Regions from separate parts of the Homo sapiens genome. Here region 2 is linked to region 1. The links are contacts of gene promoters, found by promoter capture Hi-C in human tissues and cell types (Jung and others, 2019). All regions are on one chromosome and are shown on one strand. Each heading gives the region's core, a stretch centred on a gene start or on the middle of the fragment in contact. The rest is flanking DNA. Distances are from core to core; before and after follow the strand shown. Region 1 holds the start of HECW2 (HECT, C2 and WW domain containing E3 ubiquitin protein ligase 2). Region 2 has its middle 8.6 kb from the start of DNAH7.

The links. The method cuts DNA at HindIII sites, captures the fragments that hold promoters and counts their contacts. A contact is called where the count stands out against the background at its distance.
Region 2: a contact is called between a fragment that was not itself captured here and the fragment with the promoter of HECW2 in region 1, in 1 of the 25 tissues and cell types used here (IMR-90 fibroblasts).

Annotation. Positions count from the first base shown.
Region 1 is chr2:196,591,590-196,596,426 of GRCh38, reverse strand. HECW2 (HECT, C2 and WW domain containing E3 ubiquitin protein ligase 2) reads left to right here and starts at 2,873. Exons shown (of 29, transcript NM_001348768.2): 1 at 2,873-2,919. RefSeq lists silencers at 2,915-3,184, 3,265-3,644. The HindIII fragment of the contact is 8,801 bases long and covers 1-4,837 here.
Region 2 is chr2:196,075,007-196,079,843 of GRCh38, reverse strand. No RefSeq gene overlaps it. Among named protein-coding and RNA genes, the nearest start is that of DNAH7, 8.6 kb to the right of the region's middle. The HindIII fragment of the contact is 5,218 bases long and covers 1-3,859 here.

The DNA of each region.
Region 1 (4,837 bases), core at 1,624-4,123:
TGAATTTGGGGGAGCACAAACATTCAGTCCACTGCAAATCGCTTGAGATTAAAATATCTTACTTTGGAAGCTTTTATAAAAATATAAGACCACATGAACATGTCTCTCAGGCTCCTTCTGTGTTGTTGGAAGAGGGCTGGAGTATAAGTTTCTTGGAATCTGCCTTTGGGTTTAGCTTTGGCCATATGCTTTAGAAGGAGCAGTCACAAACCTTGGCACATCTGTAGAAAGGAAGTAACCTAGGATGATGAAGGGTCAGGACACATTGCCATGTGTCCTGCATGACTTATGGGTCATGCAAAGATCTTGGAAAAGAGACAATTCAAGTGGTTCACAAGTTTGTCTTCAGTGCTTGGAGTACTCTCAGGTGGAAGAAATATTTCAACTCAATATAAGGGATCACTTCCTAATGTCAGGCCAGTTTCAATGCAGAATTGACCAGCTTGTAAAGTACTGAGTTCTCTTTAAGGGAATGGCTCCAGGAGAGGATAAGTGAGACCCGGTCAGAGATCTTGTGAAGGAGAGTGGTGGTGATGACGAACGGGGAGTGCAGTGTGAAAGAACCTACCTAATCTTTACACACCTTTGCAAGTTTGAGATTTTTAGGATGACTTTGCTATTAATGTTCTTTGATGCCTTAGTCTCGGTTTTAATGGTCGATATGTAGAAAGTTTTAAAGGTAGTAGGGGCTGCTTTTAAAGTGAGAGAAAAATGTTTTTTAAGACCTAGGGCAGCAATAGTGATTCACTTTGCCTCTATTCATTTTTAGGGTTCTTCTTTCTCCCTCCTTTCCTCCCTTCCTCCCTTCCTCCTCTTTTCTTTTCTTTCTTTTTCTGTTTTTCTTTTCTTTCTTTCTTTTTCCTCCTCCTCCTCCTTCTTCTTCCTCTTCCTCTTCTTTTTTGACAAGGTGACAGGGTCTTGCTCTGTCTTCAAGCTGGAGTGCAGTGGTGCAATCACAGCTCATTGCAGTCTTGAAATCCTGGGCTCAACTGATCTTCCTGCCTCAGCCTCCAGAGTAACTGCGATTACAGGTTCAGGCCACCATGCCTGGCTATTTTTATTTTTATTTCTTTCTTTATTTAATGTATTATACTTTAAGTTCTGGGATATATGTGCAGAACGTGGAGGTTTGTTACATAGGTATACACGTGCCATGGTGGTTTGCTGCACCCATCAACCCATCATCTACATTAGGTATTTCTCCTAATGAGATCCCTCCCCTAGCCCCACAACCCCCGATAGGCCCCTCCTCCCTGATGTGATGTTCTCCTCCCTGTGTTCATGTGTTCTCATTGTTCAGCTCCCACTTATGAGTGAGAAAACGCAGTGTTTGGTTTTCTGTTCCTGTGTTAGTGGGGTCTCACTATGTTGCCCAGATTGGTCTTAAACTCCTGGCTTCAAGAGATCCTCCTGCCTCAGGCATGATTACAGGTGTGAGCCACTGCACCTGGCCCATTTTGACTAGAATGTAACATAGTGGTTAATCAACACAAAGAAGCTAAGGATTGCAGGTGTGGGGTTGCTGGATTTGAGTAAGTTGTGAAGGAGAACATCATGTGGGAACAAACCTCTAGGATCCCTGTTCTTCCAGCAAGAACTGGAATTGGGCCTTTTGTGGGGTGGGGCTCTTTGATTCTGTGGAGGATCCTAACAGTGATGCCTGGGCTGATAGATCCAGGGGACTAAGAAGTCAGGGCTCCTCTGAGACATGTGACAAAACACAGCTGACACTGACTTGAAATAAAAGAGAGAGGATTTATTGGCTTCAAGGGTAGAGTTCACTGCAGACACATCTACCTCCTGAGGTTCCTGAGAGGGTGGGACATCACCCTCTCACCAGCAGCTTTTCTTCCCTCAAAGTTGGCTTCATTGGCATGCACTGTTGGTCCTTGTTACCGTAGGCTTATATCCTTCCAATTTAGTTATCCTAGTTTAAAGAGCTTATTTTTCTGCAGTAATACATCCAAAGCCCTAGGCCGAGTTCCTGGATCAACATGCCCAACCCAGAACCGATCACTGCGGTCCGGAAGATGACTGGCTAGTTCTGGGGGTTGAGGGTGGGAGGTGTCAGTACCCTGGAGCCACAAAGACTCATTGTGGGTGAGGGGGAAGGGCAGTTCCCATAGGAATAATGAACTGCTGTTACCAGAAAAGGCGGAGAAATGGATAATATTGAGCACACACTCAAAAGTCCCAAAGGAATGGCTATCCATTATTTGGGGACTTACTCCATATGGATATAGTTAAATTGTAAAATTGAATAAATCTTCCCTAAATCTGGACAGATGCAAGGGTGGGTGGGGAGGGACACAATATATTTACACTTTAGCATTTTTACTTTTTCTCCTACGTGGGACTGGTTGATGAAGATGCTATAGAAGTAAACAGAAAGCCGAAAGTATTAATACAGTAATTTTAAATTTTAGTGCCCTCTTTAGGCAAAGTATCTGGGAACGCTTTCAATAATCCATTTTTTCATCGTGACCACACCCTGTGTGTGCGACATGAGTATTACCGTCTTGCCCTTGCAGTTGGGGAAACCGAGGCATGACACTCCCCTATTCAGCTTTCTGGTGGGGTTGAGGAACAGTGTTGTCTGCACGACCTCAGAGGGTCTCCTCCACCCTCCGCGACACCTCTAGGAATCCTCCTGTCCTTCGACTTCGCAGAAGGAGAGCAACTCAGGCTCCGCCGCAGCCTCGGGACTCGTCCTCCGCCCAGCCGCACCCGCCCCGTTCTTCCGCACCTTCCTCAGGGAGGTCCCGCTGGCCAAGGTCTGGCTGTCCCTCCTGTCCTCTGCCCCCGCCTCCCTTCCACCGGTCCCCGACGTGCCGCCAGCTCCCAGCCCAGCGTCCCGCAGGGCGGTGCGGGCAGATGCCGCCGAAGCGTCTAGCGGGAAGGGCGCCGGCGCGGCTGGAGGTGAGGAGGCCGGACTCTTCGCTCTCCGCGGACCGGGGCACCGCGGCTGGAGCGGACGCCCGGCACCCGGGCGGGAGGAAGGTGGCGGCAGGGAGCGGCGAGAGGGTGGCGACGCAGGCGGGTCGGCGCCTGGAGAGCGAGCGGCGGGGAGCCGGGCGCTGCGGGGCCGCTCGGGGCCGCGCCGCGCTCGGCCACAAACCTCCCGGAGGCGCAGGACCCCCGGCGCCCTCCCGAGCGCGGGCGGGAGCCATGGCTTCGCGCGTCCCCGCTGCCGCTGCTGACTCGACACAATCGGCGGGTCGCGCGGGGGCCGTGGCGTAACCCGGGGGTGGGTGGCGGCGCGGAGCCGCCTCGAGAGCTCTGGGTGTCGCTGGGAGCTAGGAAGATGCCAGCACAAAGGCGAGCCGAGACCCAGCCCGCTGCGGAGGGCGGCGGGAAGAGCCGCTGAGGGGCGCGCCGAGCGCGCTCTGCCCCTGCGCCGCGTCTCTCCGGGCGCTTCTCGCGGTCTCGGGGTCGGGGACTGCAGCGCAGAGACTCTCGGCTCCGTGGCAGCGGCCGCAGCAGCCGTGAGCTGCATGCAACGCGCGGCGGCGCCCCCGGCCGCCTGCTTTCTCCTCGGCGCGCACGGACCGGCCGCAGGGCGCCGGGGCCGCGGGTCCGGGCGACTTTGGGGGCGCCCTCCCGCCCCGCGGCCGGGTCCCCACCCGCAGCTTGTGGCGACGGGCGCAAAGCCCAGGTGAGCGCGCGGCCCTCGCCGCAGGTAGCGGACGGCGGGAGGTGGCTTTGTTTTTCCTCCCTTGCGCCCCGGCGCGGTCATTCATTTGCCATTTCGGTTTCCGCTGCCCAGGATGTGTTGGATGGTTTGGTTCTCCAGGGAAACTGGGACTTTGGGGTCTATTTGAGCATCAGTTGAGGGAGAGGACGCTTCATTTCCTTTTTGGTTGGGAATGTGCCGTGAACATCCTCTGCTGGAGCTTGGGGCCTGGAGCAAACTGGGGCTGCAGATTTAGACGTAGACGTTTCCGAGGACGCGAGACTGCAGAGGTCTGACTCTCTCATGCCTTGTCTTCACTATTAGCAGCGCTCGGGTGCTTTTCGTCGTTTATTATTATTAATTTAGAGAACATCTTTACAGGCACATTTCTTTTAGAGTTAGAAGTCTTTGGAGTCAGTACAGAGAGCTCACAATTAGAGTTACAAGGGTTCAATCGATATTAAACTTCAGGAAGGAAAACATTTGTGATCATTACAGATAGAGGTGGACAGCATGCAAACTTCGGGGGCCTTTAGCTTTTGGGTTATGATTTCTGCTTTCACTGTCCTAGACTCACGCAAACTGTTTTCGTATATATATACCTTTGTGAAAGTGTGAAACTTGTCTTTTCTGGAGTAGTGTTCTATAGTTTGTCATTTAGAAGAAGAATATTTTAGTGTAATTAGTAGAGCTCTCCATGTGTTTGTCTTATAAATATGATTTTCTTTTTACTATTTCTCCTATTCCCTCGAGGGTTCATTTCTTCTGTTGCTTTGAGAGAGCTTTTTTTCTTTCTCTTCCCAACAGATGGCTGTATGTTCCAAGAGGTTATCTTTAAAATGACACACACATTATCTACAAAGAAAGAAAGATCAGTTATTGACTTTATCTTTGGAGTTATTAAAATAAAAGGCCTAATCTGGATGGGGATATTATTAATGGCGTGAAAATCTGGAGTTTGCTAATCTGTTTGGTCATCAGAAGATTCCTGCGGGGATTGTTTATATAGCGTGGGAGACAGATGGCATCCCTAGCAGACTAGAGAAGCCAGGCATAAAGGGTCATTGTATTCTTCAGAAATTATCCACTTCACTATTAGAGGTGGGGTAGGGTGGGGTGGAGGGTGGCAAAGACATTTTGATCTCTTAAAGGAGACACTGTAAC
Region 2 (4,837 bases), core at 1-2,500, 510 kb after region 1:
TTAAAATATAAAGCATTTCAGATAGAAGGAAAGAGGAAGGCACAGGGAAGTTGGAATATCTGCTTTGTGCTAGGAACTAAGCTAGCTGCTTTTCATAATTCTCTGAATTAATGCTCACAACAATTCTAAAAGGTTGCAATTCCAATTTAGAGAAAAGAAAATGGTCGTTTACAGATGCAAAGTAACTTCTTCACTTTCACCAACCAGTAGAGACAAAGTCAGGATTTATACCAACTCTAATTCCAGAAAACAGTCTCTTTTCCTACACCATAATCCTCCCCTAGAGATAGAAAATATATTTTTTTCTCTTTAATTATCAGAAGCACTTTAGTGTTGAGGTTATGGAAAAGAGAACTTATTAAGCTAGTTACAAGGTCAAATAAAGTATTCGGTAGGGTAGGAACAGTTGGATAGGGCTCACACTCAATCTTTGATTGGAAAAAAGGACTTTTTTTTTTTTTTTTAGCATGTTTTAAGAAAGATTACCAAAGTAAATAAAGAGAAAGTTTTCTAGTTGCCCCAAGCAATCATGAAAACACTACATATCTATGTGATTACTTAGCAAAGTCAAAAAGCATTTTATTGGGCAAATAAAAAGTCCAGAATGAACTCTGTGCCCATGACCTTTAAGCCACCTGAAAAACATGGAACGTGATGAAGTACAGCACATTCTCAAAGTCCACAGACATAAGGTTGAGAGGCAATTCTTTGGACACTTGACTTACAGTAAGCCTATTACTGGAATTCCAAGGGAGGAAGAGTTGTTTCTTCAAATAAAAATTAGCTGGTTTATATGTTGTTGCTTTGCATTGCCCAAGGGAAAAATGACTAAGGTATCACCTGAAAATATAGTACATTATTAGCATATATAAAAGCCTTTTAGCAAAACCTGATTTAAAAAATATGTCAGGCTACTTTCTAAACATATGTAATTTGTTCCAGTGTTTTTTGTTTTGGAGACAGGGTCTCCTTCGGTTGCCCAGGCTGGAGTGCAGTGGCATGATCACAGCTCACTACAGCCTACAGCCTCAATCTCCTGAGCCTAAGCAATCTTCCCACCCCAGCCTCCCAGTAGCTGAGACTACAGGTGCTTGCCACCATGCCTGGCTAAGTTTTGTATTTTTTGTAGAGACAGGATCTCACCATGTTGCCCAGGCTGGTCTCCAACTCCTGAGCTCAGGTGATCTGCCCGCCTTGGCCTCCCAAAGTGCTGGGATTACAGGAGTGACCCACCGTGCCTGGCTTGTTCCAGTTTTATAATACATGACTGTATTTCTTGATGATTGTAAAAATAATCAAACTTTAAAATATTCTATGATTCTGTGGTAAGAGTAGTTCTGTAGGAAAAAAGGATTTTTCTATTTTCCTGATTTACAGGTGACTTTATCTCCCTCTAGTGTTCAAAGAAACTAATGCAATCATTTGTGTTTTTCAGGTCTGGTTGTGATTAGCTGAAGGTCAATGTGTGGTAATAAAGCAACATCATTATTTGTTTTCATGGGAATTGGTCCATACATAGCTCAGGGTTTTCACAAACAAATACCACACGCATGAACTGTCAACCACATTTTGTAGGGTTCTTTTATATCTCAGTTATCTATTATAACTCTAACTTTGTGCTTGCATAATTCTTTGATAAAATATGATAAAATATGTTGACAAAATATGTTATTTTTAAATTTCAAGTTTCCAGAAAGAGAAAACAACAGCCCCCAGGGCTTGGTCCTTAAACCATCTTTCTTTCTTTTTTTTATTTATTCTATCTCGTTTGATGATCTCATCTAATCTCATGACTTCAATGACCGTCTATATTTAGATGAACTTTGAATCTATACCCTGACAGGAGCTGCACCCAGACCAGGATGGTTTCCTGCCTCTTCAGCATCTCAACTGGATGCCTACTAGGCAACTGAAACTTAACATGCTTAAAACTGAGTTTTTAAGAAATAATCCCACCAAAAAGTGGGCAAAGAATATGAATAGACAGTTCTCAAAAGAAGAGATACAGCCAATAAACATGTGAAAAAATGCTCCACATCCCTAACCATCAGGGAAATGCAAATTAAAACCACAATGAGATACCACCTTACTCCTACAAGAATGGCCATAATTAAAAAGTCAAAAAACAATAGATGTTGGTGTGGATGTGGTGAAAAGGGAACAGTTTTACACTGCTTGTGGGAATGTAAATTAGTACAACCATTATGGAAAACAGTATGGAGATTCCTTAAAGAGCTAAAAGTAGAGCTGTTAGGTAGTTAGGTAGACATTAGCAGCTCGGAGGGGGTGAGAGAAGAAAGCAGAAGGGCTGTCACTAAGACAGGCCCTGGCCCACCTAAATTCAGCCCCCAAATCACCATAGCTCCACCCTAATGGACAGAATTTGTGATAAAGTCTGTGGCCAGCACATCCTGGGGAAAGAAAAACTGGGGCACAGATAAAAATTTCCTAATGTGACACATGCCCCGTCCATCTAGGCCAGGGGTTTTCCAAGCTTTTGGCTTCCCTGGGCCACATTGAAAGAATCATCTTGGGCCATGCATAAAATACACTAACACTAACAATAGCTGATGAGCAAAAAAAAAGAAAAAAGAGAAAAATTGCAAAAAATCTCATAATGTTTTAATAAAGCTTACAAATTTGTGTTGGGCCACATTCAAAGCTGTCCTGGGCCACATTTGGACAAGCTTGATCTAGGCCATAACCCTGGGGAACCCCATCCTTATTATACAGTCATTATAGTAAAATTTACTTGTGGTTTTGCCCCTCTGAGTGGGCTTTTCTTAACGAAAGATCGGTAAAAACATGCTCAGTTTAACTTCAGCTATGTAACTATAAACTGCCAATCAAATGACATCATCCTGTCACTCAAACACAGCCCAGGCCTCAACTCCTCCCATAAAAGCATCCTGAGCTCTGCAAAGAGTGGCTGATTTCACTTCGTAGAAGTTGGCCCACTCTCCCTTTGAGAGTGTATTACTGTGCCTTAATGAACTTTGCTTTGAGCTTGCACTTTGCTGTTAGTTTGCATTTCTTTGCTCACTATCACAAGAACTGAGATTGCTGGTCCAGAGCTCCAGCTCTGTTGATCTCGGTTAAAGGATCCATCCCAAGGCAGCATCCCTGGTAACAGAACTACCATTCCATCTAGCAATCCCACTACTGGGTATCTACCCAAAGGAAAAAAAGTCATTATATAAAAAAGACACATGCACACCCATGTTTATAGCAGTACAATTCACAGTTGCAATAATATGGAACCAACATAAGTACCTATCAACCAATGAGTGGATAAAGAAGATGTGGTATATATACACCATGAGTGCTACTCAGCCATAAAAAAGGAATAAAATAATGTCTTTTGCAGCAACTTGGATGGGTCTGGAGGCCATTATTCTAAGTGAAGTAACTCAGGAATGGAAAACCAAATACTGTATGTTGTCACTTATAAGTGGGACCTGAGCTATGAGGACACAAAGGCATAAGAATGATATAATGGACTTTGGGGACTCAAGGTGGGAGGGGGTGAAGGATAAAAGACTACATATTGGGTACAGTGTACATTTCTTAGGTGACAGGTGTACTAAAATCTCAGAAATCACCACTAAAAAAAACTGAATTTTAAATTTAATTTCCTTCCTTCCTTCCCTTCTTTCCACTTCCTTTCCCCCTCCCCCTTTCCCTCCCTTCTCCCCTCGCCTCCCTTCCTCTCTCCTTTCCTTTCCTTTTTTTGACAGTCTTGCTCTGTTGCACAGGCTGGAGTACACTGAGGCGACCTCGGCTCACTGCAAACTCTGCCTCCTGGATTCAAGCGATTCTCATGCCTCAGCCTCCCAAGTAGCTGGGATTTACAGGCTTACACCATGACACTCAGCTAATTTTTGCAGCATGTTGGCCAGGCTGGTCTGGAACTCCTGACCTCAGGTGATCCACTGGTCAAGGCCTCCCAAAGTGCTGGGATTACAGGCATGAGCCAACACACCCAGATGAGTTTTAAATTTTCTTTCACCTTCCAACATGTCTTTCTGCTTCCTGGCCTTCCTCATTTTAAGGCACAACCATCCACCAAGAGGTTCAGGCAAAAAAAAATAACCCTAGGAGTAATTTTACCTTATCATCATCCCTTACATCTATTCTAGCAAGTCCTAGCAGATTTTCTTCCAAAATATATCCCTGATTTGTCCTCTTCTCTCCATCTTTCTAATTTTGCCTCCTTCTAGTTTAAGCCACCATTGGTATTTCCCGGGCCTATTCCAGTAGGCTCCTAATTGGCTTTCCTCCTACCCCTCTTGCCCTGTTTGCGTTTATGATTTCTCCATGTAATTAAAATAACATCCTTCCTCACTATGGTCCTGGCCTTCTTCAGGCCTTTGGACATTTCAAACTCATTCCCCTACTTGGACCTGTGATCTAGCTGCTCTTTACTTCCTGGGAAACTCATTTCCAAAGTATTTGAATGGCTGGCTCATTTTGGTCATTCAGATCCCAGCTCAAATGTCTCCTGGAAGATGTGTTCATTGATGACAGTCTCTCCCATTACCTTGTTTCATTTTCTTTTTGGACTTTTTACCAACTCAAATTATTCATTTATTAATTTACTTATTTTTTTCTCACTAATTTTCCATTTCTCTTTCCTAGAACAGAAACTGGGATCTTGGCTGCTCTCTGTATCTCTCATGCCTAGAATGGTGTCTGGCCTACTGCAGGTAGGAAATATTTGTTGACTGAGCAAGATGAGGATAATGAGTACAAGTATCAGTTCACAAAGAGAGAAGCATGGCAAAACAACAACAACAAACCAGATTCTGGACTCTGTTTTAAGTTGTACATTTGATTT